2 separate regions of the Homo sapiens genome follow, and region 2 is linked to region 1. The links are contacts of gene promoters, found by promoter capture Hi-C in blood cells and fetal thymus (Javierre and others, 2016). All regions are on one chromosome and are shown on one strand. Each heading gives the region's core, a stretch centred on a gene start or on the middle of the fragment in contact. The rest is flanking DNA. Distances are from core to core; before and after follow the strand shown.

Evidence for each region. Contacts are between HindIII fragments. The CHiCAGO score rates a contact against its expected background, and 5 or more counts as called.
Region 2: a contact is called between a fragment that was not itself captured here and the fragment with the promoter of LEMD1-AS1 in region 1, in 2 of 17 cell types (endothelial precursors and naive B cells). The highest score is 5.9, in endothelial precursors.

What each region holds. Positions count from the first base shown.
Region 1 is chr1:205,371,126-205,376,734 of GRCh38, forward strand. LEMD1-AS1 (LEMD1 antisense RNA 1) reads left to right here and starts at 2,127. Exons shown (of 4, transcript NR_038425.1): 1 at 2,127-2,309. RefSeq lists silencers at 1,256-1,550, 5,096-5,390. The HindIII fragment of the contact is 1,416 bases long and covers 913-2,328 here.
Region 2 is chr1:205,517,210-205,522,945 of GRCh38, forward strand. All of the region lies in intron 1 of CDK18 (cyclin dependent kinase 18), which reads left to right. Among named protein-coding and RNA genes, the nearest start is that of CDK18, 15 kb to the left of the region's middle. RefSeq lists enhancers at 302-1,001, 4,217-5,042. The HindIII fragment of the contact is 1,315 bases long and covers 3,715-5,029 here.

The DNA.
Region 1 (5,609 bases), core at 877-3,376:
CTGCAGATGTATTTTGTTTGCCCACAGTTTGTTGCTTTTTAAAATTTTGAATTAGTTGCCAATTTAAATAATTAAGACATTTCACATAAATATCCAGAATATTCCCTTCCTCTTGAAAAGTCTGATCACATTCCTGCATGGATGGTTTGGCTGGGCTGGGAGCTACTACCTCCTCTGTACGCTAGGCAAGACCGTGGGCTCACTCATACAAATGGCCTGACCCCCATGGGTGCTTGAATTTGAGACTCCTGATACTTTGGGTGAATGTTGTGGATAGTTGCTTAGTTTATTTTATAATATATATTGTGAAAGGCCAGGCACAGTGGCTCACGCCTATAATCCCAGCACTTTGGGAGGCTGAGGCAGGCGGATCACCTGAGGTCGGGAGTTTGAGACCAGCCTGGCCAACATGGAGAAACCCCATCTCTATTAAAAATACAAAATTAGCCGGGCATGGTGGTGCATGCCTGTAATCCCAGCTACTCAGGAGGCTGAGGCAGGAGAATCACTTGAACCTGGGAAGCGGAGGTTGCGGTGAGCCGAGATCACACCATTGCACTCCAGCCTGGGCAACAAGAGGGAAACTCCGTCTCAAAAAAATAGTGGTAAAATATACATAACAAAATTTACCATTGTAACCATTTTTAAGGGTACAGTTCAGTGGCACTAAGCACATACATGCTGCTGTGCAGCCATCACCACCATCCATCTTAGAACTTTTTTCATTCTCCAAAATGGATATTCTGTACCCATTAAACAGTAACTCCCCATTCCCCACAGTCTCCAGCTCCGGCAACACCATTCTGCTTTCTATCTCTGTGAATCCGACTACTCCAGGTAGCTCATGTAAATGGAATCATACAGTATTTGTCCTTTTCTGACTGGCTTATTTCACTTAACGTAATGTCTTTAAGCTTCCCCATTGCATAGTTTCTGGCTCAGATCATTCTAGTGCTCATTTTACAGATGAGGAAGCTGAGGCCCCACGGGAGCCTGCCAGGGCAGAGGTAGAATTGGATCCTGGATCTTCTGCTTAGGACACTCTCCCTAACGTTGCCCCGTTGAGGTAAACTGAGGAATGGAGAGACCGATATGGCAGAACAGGAGGATATTTATTTTAAGATATGCACCGGCTCAGTGGATTCACATCCAAAAAGCTGAGCATTGAACAAAGACAGAGCGGGGTTTTTATAAGCGGGCTTACAAAAGCAAAACAAAGGCAGTTAACCATATAGTGCATAACTTGTGGCCTTGCATAGCTGGTGGCCTTGTAGCTGAGACAAAAGAAAAACAAGAACTAGCTAAATACAGACATTTGTAAAACATAGTTATGCTTAAGAAGCCAGGGAAAGGAGTAACAGTAAAGGAATTTGTCTTTCTTTTTTTTCCTTTCAACCTTGCTCTGGAGGAAGGAGTGGGTGTCTGGAGCCCATTCCTTTGGCCTTGGCTTTTCGGACAGCCTTATCTTATAACTGTCCTTGAAGTGAGCTGCTAAGCAGAGGAAAACTTGCTTCTTTTCTTTTTAACCCTTGCCTTGCCTGTTACTTTTCTCGGAGTGAATTAATGCATATTTATTTTTAAATTTCTGCCTCAGCCCTTCTTAGACCAGATCTCACCTTTCTTTTCTAGTAATGCAAGTGAGAGCAACATGTTCTTCACAGCAGCAAAGCCATCCCTGTTCATACAGGTTGTGGAGTTACCCTTCTCTCTGCCAATTTGAAGGGTTGCCCAACATTAATCTGGGAAGGGAAAAAGGCTGCCTCCTAATCAGAACAGTAATGAACATTAATAATCCATTCTCCTTCAAGAGACAAATTTAAAAAAACCCAGTAGCAATAAACTAAAAAAAAAAAAAAAAAAAAAAAAAAAAAAGGACAAACTCATCCTTTCCCCTCCACATATTTTTAGCTAACTCTTGAACCCAAGGAGGATTTTACCAATGGCTCTCCAGGAATTAGAGTTGTCACACCAGTCTCCTGTTGCCAGGAAATGAGGAGAGCTGTCCTCATCCACATCTGCAGTACCTAGAATAGCCCCCTCTGGCTCTCCAGAGATTGATTCATTAGGCAGGGTTGTGTTTAGGTGACGCCCACAAACGAGAACATTCATAGCAGCCATCATTTCTCAGTGAATGCGGTCCTGTAAATGCTGGCGATCTTGTAGCAGTGCTGATTAGCGAGTTGCTCCAACACCTCCTCATAATTTTTTCCTGCTCATCACTCACCTGCTTTGTCAAAATGAACAAGAAGGAAGCATGATTGAGCTGTGCACCGAGGCGGCAAGGAAGCCCTGGATGACCCTCTTAACAGGTTCATTTCTTCTTGAGCAAGCTTGTTAAAAGTTAGCATTGCTTAACACAGGCTAATTGGCTTCCCTTTCATTTTCTTCCATCCAAGTTTCTATCGGGAATCTTCCTCAGAATAAAATGCCAAGTTGGTTAGGCACTTTCTTATTTTAGTCTTGAGATTACGTTCTTGCTTCAGGAAAGAGTCAAGTTTAATTTTACTTCCAAATCAGCCCCTTCTTGTTACTCTAATCAACAAGACTTTTCTTGGCTGGGAGGTAGGGGTAGGGGAGGAAAGGAAGGGAGGAAAAAAAGCAAGAAAAACAACCTCCTAAACATCAACAATCATTTTTCTTGCATGTAAGATTATCAACTACTATAGATATAAACATTGTGGTCTAGCACTTCTTTATTTATGACTGTGGCAATGAAAATAACTTGGTACTTAACCAATTATTTTTAAGAGGTGGTAGCACAGTATTTCTTTGAATGTCGAAGAACAGAAATAGAGCCTTTAAGAATTTCTTCCATCTGCCACCCTGAATATTGACTGGGTAGAGATTTAAACAGCATGCATGCAATAGAATTGGCCTCATCGCCCCATCTGTAGAACACAAGCCTGTGAAATCCAGTGTGTCTGTGTGACATGCAATTAGCTCAATCCTGTTTCTCCAGCCAGGGCTCCACTTCATTGTTTGGCCATGGGATGGAGAACACCTTTGCTGGGTGGCAGGATTGACCCTGCTGTAAATAGTGACATTTATAGGAATGAGGACTTTGGATGCCGTGGGAATGACAGTGTGTTAGAAGGCTAAACACTGCATAATGAGGTTGATTGGGAATGCCTTTCAACAGCAGTTTGCTCATTTTAGGGACTTCTCATCACAGGGATAAACAGGAAGCAAAATCTGGGGTATTGGTTTTGTGGTTTCAAATGTCTATTTGAGTTGGAAACTGCTCAAAATGGAAATGGGCTCTTTCTGGAGGTAGCACAGACATCACTTCGAGAGGAGATCCAGAGATGATTAAGATACAGTCCTCGACACAAGGAGCTCCAAGATTTGTAGGGGAGGCAGACGAGTCATTGAAATTGAAAAAATAAAACACCTCGCTGGCAAGGAGTTTGCTCTTGACAAGAAGAAATCAGTCTCTAGACTAATTCTCTTCCTATTGCTGAGACTAGAGCCCTGCCTTGGAATTTGATTTGGCCCAAGGTCAAGAAAATCTCAAGATCATGGGTCCTTGTATAGCTGGGATAGGGGTGGGTCAATGACTCTGCTGTTGGAGAAGGCACTGAGGTAAGGCCGGTTTTTTACGTACCAGGTCCCCAGCTGTGCTCTAGAAACTGCAGAAACAGAACAAAGCATAAGATTTGAAAACAAACAAATACACTCTGCACGTTGGAAGCAGGAGAAATCTTGGCATAGTATGCTGTTGTGGAGTGAGGGAGATTTTTCTCTTTCTTTATATAGATTCAGGCAGGATTGTGTCTGAGACCAGCACTACGTCTGAATCATTGTGAGTCACTGGGAGGGAGGTATAACTGTGCCCTGTAAGCGGGTCTCAGGGTGGAGAATCACTCTGAAGGATTAAAGGTGGGGCCCTTGGAAAACGATGAATCCTGAAGCAGAAAGCAAAGCTAGCCACTTCAATGCACTTTTAATGGGGTTAGCACTTTTCATTTTCCTAGGATTCTGGGAATGATTCATTTAGCGTTTGGTGTTAAGGTTCTTCCCTCCCCACATTTCAATTTCATATACATTTTCCCTTCCATCTAAAATGTCAGAAAAGCCTGTTACACAGCCTGTGTCACTGTATTGTGGAGAATGTAGGGACAGGGCAGCAGTGGGAGAATTGGCCTGGCCTGCATCAGCTCTCTGCGGAGGTCAGCTTGATGGCAGTGATCCTGGGATGTCAGTCAGCCTCCACTCCCTGGACCTATTTTCCCCAAATTACCAGGGAAAGGTGAGCCTTAAAAAGAAGATCATGAACTGGGTGCAGTGGCTCACACCTGTAATCCCAGCACTTTGGAAGGCCGAGGCAGGTGGATCACCTGAGGTCAAGAGTTCAAGACCAGCCAGGGCAACATGGAGAAACCATATCTCTACTAAAAATACAAAAATCAGCTGGGTGCGGTGGTGCGTTCCTGTAATCCCAGCTACTTGGGAGGCTGAGGCAGGAGAATCACTTGAACCTGGGAGGCGGAGGTTGCAGTGAGCTGAGATCGTGCCACTGCACTCCAGCCTGGGTGACAGAGTGAGACTCTGTTTCAAAAAAAAAAAAAAAAAAGAATCATAAAACACTTGGGTCACATCACAAATACTCAAAAAACAGGGCAAGTGCATTCTTAGAGTTTTCTAAGCAGAGAGGTTTTAACTGTTCCTCTTCACCCCCGATTCCCCTGTCCTATCTATTTGCACTGGGCAATTGCAGCCACAATTCTGTTCTCCCTGGGAGCCCCACAAAGCTATCTCAGCCACCAGCCAGCACCTCATTATTCCTTCTCTGCTGCTTTTGCTCCAGTAGCATTGCCCCATTCACTGCCCGTATCAAAGGCACCCACATTGGGCTGCCCACATCTGTTGCTGCCAATACACTGCAAACTGACCTGCCTCTCCCCTGTCCCAAGTCCCTCAAGGGATTCAGCACACAGCTCCTTGGTTTGGCCCCTCCTTAGAAGCCTGTCTCTCCAGCTCTCATTCAGGGGGCTGTGGCAACTGACACGGAAGACATTCAGGGAGGCAGACACTGTTAGTCCTTAGAAGAGTTACTTTTCTTATGCATTGGCTTCCATTAAAGTTCAAACTTTAACATAGACCATATTTTCCTTCCTATGGTCCCAAGACCCTCTATGATCTGAATCCCACCTTCTTTTCCAGCCGCATCTCTCCCCACCCGCTTCACTCTCTTGTGGCTTCCTAAACCTGCCATGCAGTCTCTCACACACTAGTCTTTGTAAATACTGCTCCCTCGCCTGGCAGACTTTTCCTTTAGCCTCGCCCACTTTTCCCTTATTTGGACTGAGTCCTACTCATCCTTCTGGCTTCAGCTGTGATACCACTTTTTCTAGGAAGCTACCCCTGTCTATTCCCAATATAGGAGAAGGTTGCTCTTTTGTGCTTCCAGGGTACCCTATGCCATCATCAAAAGGATGTCACTTAACACCGTACTATCTGTTGACTTTTCCATCTCTCCTGTCAGACTGTGTGTTCCTTAAGAGCAGGAACTATATCCTATACTGATTAAAAAAATTTTTTTTTAGAGACAGGGTCTTGCTCTGTCACCCAGGGGGAGTGCAGTGGCACAATAATAGCTCACTGCAGCC
Region 2 (5,736 bases), core at 3,122-5,621, 150 kb after region 1:
GCCCCACCCTGCGTGGCCCTGCAGTTGTCTAAGTAGGGGGGACCCTGCCTCCCTGGCCCTTCTCCCCCTCACATCTGCCAAGAGATGATCCTGCTCCCTGTCTCCTGGCCCTCTTCCATCCTGGGATCCAAAAGCACCTTGCAATAAGGAAGTCTGCAGGGATGTTTGATGAAGTTTATATGAGGACTCTTTTTGTCTGGGCAGTAGCTTGAGAGAGGAGAGCCAAGCTTTGCTGGACATCTTCCCTGTGCCAGTGGTGTGTTGTGTTGGCTCACCCAGCATGTTTGCTCAGATACCACTGTACGTTGAAAATGTCACCTGCCCAACATCCAACTCCTGGTCTTCCCACTGAAACCACTACTCCCAGAATGCCTTGTCTCCTCCAGTGACTGTTCTATCTCTCCACTCCGGCTGCTTGGCGAAAACCCTGCTGCAGAGTCATGCTTGACTCTTTTCTCACCCACAACATACAATCCATCTGCAGAGCTCTTTGCCTCCACCTTCAAAATATAGCCCAAATCCAGCCACTTCTCACCATCTCCACTGCCCCCCGCTGGTCCCAGCCACCATCAAGCTCTCTCCCCTGGGCCTCAGCAGCAGCCTCCTGCCCGGGCTCCCTGCTCTCCCCTTGCTCCCCTTGTCTGTTCTCAACACAGCAGCGTGTTAAAGCCTCAGTGTGATCATGTCACTCATCCGTTCAAACCCTCCTTACCCCTCGAGGCCCAACACAGCTGCTCCGCACTCCCATCCAGCATCTTCTCCAGCCACATCATTGTCCTGCAGTGAACCAGACTTACTTCTGCCTCAGGACCTTTGCCCCTGCTGTTCCCTTGTTGACCTGCTTCTCCCAGACCCTGCATGACTGACCCCCTCACCTTACACCTACTCTGGATTTCTCCTGAGATGTCACCTGCTTCTTGGGGAGGCCTTCTTGACCACCCTACTTAAACTTGCAACTGCACTTCCCACACCTTCCCTCTTCCCTGCATGAATTCCCATCATTGCACTTGTCACCATCCATCATACTGTGTATTCATTCTGTCTATTGTCCGCACCCCCCTACCCCTGTTAGAAAGTATTAGGAAAGGAATTAATGTCTGTTTCATTCATCTGTGGATTCTCAGGGTCTACAACAGTGCCTGGCATGCAGCAGGTGTTCAATAATTGTTGAATGAATGAATGGAGCCAGGGGTGAGAGGGGTTTTATCACGTCATTGCGATTCCATAGCCTGCTAGTGGTAGCACCAAAGTTTGAAACTGAGTTTGTTTGGCACGCAGTTCAGAGTAGGAGAAAACAGTCAAGCCTGGGCCACAGGGAAGGGGCAAGGGCGGGGAGGGCTCCAGGTAGGAGAAGAAAGGAGCAATATGGTCACGTTTGTGCACTTGGCAACAACCAGGAAATTGCTGCGTGATTCTGGGCAAGCCATTTCCCCTCTTGGATGTTCAGCATCTTCACTGGGCAAGGGATGGGGATGGAGGCTGTGTGAGCGTCTTCCCCTGCTAACATTCTGGGAGGCCAGCCCTGCTCACTGGGGGCACAGTGGCCTCTGGCAAGTGCTGGCTTTCTTCCCAGCCTGGCTCCTCCTTCCTCCTTCTGTGCCACCCATGGCTCTGGCACCAGCAGGAGGTTCTGGGCCGGCTGCTGTGTCCCTGGGAAGAAGCAACTGGAGCTGGCTGAGCTTTATGACTTACCTGGGCAGGGAGGTGGGAGGGGAGGTTGGCTGGGGTCTGCCTGCCCACCCTGCAGCTCCTCAGTGGGACTCTGCTCCTTCAACTTCCTCCACCCCCCACTGCCGGGCCAGTATCCCTGGACACTCATCGCCCTCTTCCCCTGGCACCAATTGCACGGGGACAGCCCCAGATGGCTCCTTGGTCTGGGGACAAAGGCTGTGCTGTGCCTGGCCCCGGGCTGGCCTCAGGCTGGTCATACTGAGCCCTTCTGTCCCCACTTGGGGGTGAGGGGTAGATAGCACTAAGGTGACAGGCCTTTTTCCTGTCTCCCTTCCCCCTCGACCCCCAAATCTGAGGAGCTGACTCTCCCAAGGGAAAAATGACAGAGGCATCTTGTGTCTTGACCTAGGGAACAACAGACTATTCACTGCCCAGTCTGCCCTGTCACACCCAAGACCCTGCTGGGTTCAATGCCCTGGTTGTCCCCAGCAGAGAGAGACATCCACTCTGCTGTGGTCACCACCCCCACCGCCTGCTCCCCTGTCACCATCAGGAAGTCCACCCTACATCTGACCTCCATCCTTCCATCAGGAAGTCCATCCTACATCTGACCTCCATCCTTCCATCAGGAAATCCATCCTACATCTGACCCCCATCCCTTCTGCTGCTGTGACAGCCACTTCCTCTCAGGCTCCTGTCCTGCGGGTGGAGAACAGCTGGTCCCCATCGCCTGCACTGCTTGGCCCCACATTCCTGCTCCAGTCAGCTGCCTCTGGCCTCACCCTTCCTCCAGCTCCCAGCCCCACTGTCCTCCCCACCCCAGGCACAGGCTGGTGGCTCCTTGCTCCTCACTGAACCTTAGGGAGAGCAGGTGTGACTCAGGGCTGAATCTCTTTTGTCTTGCAGAAATGGGGGGCCTCCTTCCCGGAGGCTTTTAATGAGCTCCCCTCCCCTCACCCTACAAGCAAGAGCAAGGGTGTGAGATTTATGGTTGCTACTTGTAGATTCCTGAGCCGCAAATCCAACATGCCATCCCATAAATCCCAGACTGCAGGACGGTTTTATGGGGAAGCCCTGTTTTTAGAAAGGGGTGTGGCTGGTCTCCCTCCTGGCAGAGCTCAGACCTCAGGGAGCCAAGTGCCTGCCTCTCCCCACCCCCAGAGAACAACCATGACAAAGCACGGGGACATTGGGGACATCAGTTGGTGTGGTGGAGATGCACTGGCTTCCAGGACAGAGAGACTTCCTCTCCTGTGGGGGGCCTCCTGCTTCCCTTCCCTGCTCTGAGGATCCCCCGTCTCAGCACAGGAGGGTGGCCTGGAAGCCTGGGCAGATAATTGTCCCTGACCTGGACCTTAGATGTTTTCCTGGTCACCGCTCCAGGTGTACATCATTGGAGATGTTTTTTCAAATGCATTTTCCCAGGCACCATTCTCAGAACCTCAGTTCCAGAATCTCAGGGTGAGACCTAGGAATCTGAATTTTTTTACAATGCTCCCTGGTGATTCTGATGTTCAGCTATCTTTGAAAATAATTGGCTGAGTGCTGTGGCTCATGCCTGTAATCCCAGCACTTTGGGAGGCCGAGGAGGGGCAGATCACTTGAGGTCAGGAGTTCGAGACCAGCCTGGCCAACATGGCGAAATCCTGTCTCTACTGAAAACACAAAAATTAGCCGGGTGTGGTGGCGCGGGCCTGTAATCCCAGCTACTCAGGAGGCTGAGGCATGAGAATCGCTTGAGCCCGGAAGGTGGAGGTTGCAGTGAGCCAAGATCACGCCACTGCACTCCAGCTTGGGTGATAGAGCACGACTCTATCTCAAAAAAAAAAAAAAGAAAAAAGGAAAAAAGAAAATAATTGATCTTTACAAGGAGCCATCTCCACTCTCCTATCTTGCTCGGAAATGGGAGTCACCAGGTAGGTGTGTCTGGGTCCTCTTGTCACTGGGACCCACACCCCCTGCCACCATCATGAAGCCTCCAGATTAGATCTCTGTGGCCTGAATGCTATACACAAGTGTGAGGCATGGTGGCTGCCCTCTGGAAGCTTCCTGTCTGCAAGAGTCCTGCAGACAGCAGGCCTGAGACATTGCACAGAGCCACGGAGGAGCGGCTGAAGATGACTGACAGGAAGGAGTTTAGGGATGGGGAGTCAGGAAAGTCCAAGGCTGGTGGGCTCTGCCAAGGAAGCCAGAGGAAGCGCTTTCAGCTACCTTCTCATCAAAGGAGGCATCACCAGCCCCTGAGTTTCTTGAGAATGGGGACCACCCTTTACTTGCCTCTGAAACCCTCATGCCTGGCACAATGCTGGCGCATAGTAGGTGCTCAGTTTTTTGGTTTGTTTGTTTTTTAAGACAGAGTCTTGCTCTGTCGCCCAGGCAGGAGTGCAATGGCGCAATCTCCACTCACTGCAACCTCCGCCTCCAGGGTTCAAGCAATCCTCCTGCTTCAGCCTCCCAAGTAACTGGGATCACAGGTGCACACCACCATGCCCAGCTAATTTTTTTGTATTTTTAGTAGAGACAGGGTTTCGCCATGTTGGCCAGGCTGGTCTCAAACTCCTGACCTCAAGTAATGCACCTGCCTCAGCCTCCCAAAGTGCTGGGATTACAGGCATGAGCCACCATGCCCGGCCAGTTCATTTGTTCAGTGGAACTGAGTGAGACTTCAGGGCCCACTGACAGAGATGGGCCTGCCTAGCACTGCAGACCCGAGGCCTCCACTCTGAAAGGTGCCAGCCCGCTAAAGGAATGAAGGAGAGCTTGTTCATACCCAGCCATGAGGATCAGGGCAGCTGGAGGGCCACCACTGAGCTGTGTTTGGGGGCAGCCAGGAGCATGCGCTGCCAGACAGAGGACCCTTTCCAGGCTGGCTGAGGACAGAAGGATGTGATCATTAAGCAAAGCCAACATGTTACTGACCCATAATCCCTTAAACCAGGAGGATTCGGGAAGGGCCTGGTCGCCTTGGCAACTAGGTGCTGGCCAGTCGCAGGGCTGAGAGCATCCTCCAGGAGTGGGCTGTGCCTGGTGCTGGTGCATGGGTAACAGCTGGGAGCGGGTGCAGGGCGGCCCATCATAGGGCTCACCCCCTGGTGCCTTCTTGCCAGCATGGGTGGAAGCCCTTGTGAGGCCTCAAGGGCAGTGTGTGCAGAGCAGGATGAGAGGGGGGCTGCACTGAGCGTGTAGGAAACCATGAAGGGAAGTGGAGGGGAGGTGAGACAGCGCTGCTCTGGGTTTTCAGGGCAGGAGGGAGAAGGGAGGGTCTGCAGGAAGAAGCAGTTGCATGGGTCTCATTGGGTGGCCAGCAGGGCATCCTCTAATTCAGAGGGCACGAGGAGCTGGGTAGCCTGAAGAAGAAAGCTTTCATGGTTGGGGACAGGACCGTGGGGGTGGGCAGAGCAGCTTACCCCGCTCCTCCATGGTGTTCTCGGTAGGGGATACCTGCCTGCTTGGAGGGCTCTGGCATGGGAAGAGGCCTGCAGGGATCAAGCCTCATCTTCCCTAGGGCTCGACTCTATTAATGGCAAGCTTCCGTGTTTCCCCTGAGACCTTCCACTGCTCCTGACCTCCTGTATTTCAGCTGGAGAGAAGGTGCAGCTGGCCAGCTCTGATGCACTCTTCCCTTCCTCCTCTTTTTCCCCTCTTGCCTCCTGGGGCATGCCAGAGCAGAGACCTTCAGGTGTCAGTATCAGAGGTGAAATGAGGTTTGGACCCAATCATGTCCCAAGGGTGTTGGCCAAGCTGACATTCAGTTTACGGGCCTTGGTCAGTAAGATTTATTGGCTGTTGACACATTCAGGCCCTTGGACACAAGTTGGTAAATTTCTGCTGGTCCAAGGACTGCCTGGTTCTGGCACCCTCCCTGCCACCCCAGCCCTTCCCCCAGAACTCTCTAGACCTCCAGCAGCTAAAGGGCTTAGGTCTGGGGGGCCTTCAGGATCCTCTTTGCACATCATGCCTGCTATTATGACCAATACTTTGCTGGACTAGGTGGTCCATAGAGAACTGCACAGGGCGTGGCGGGGCGGGCGGTGGGCAGTGGAGGCAGTGCTGAGGGTCACTGGG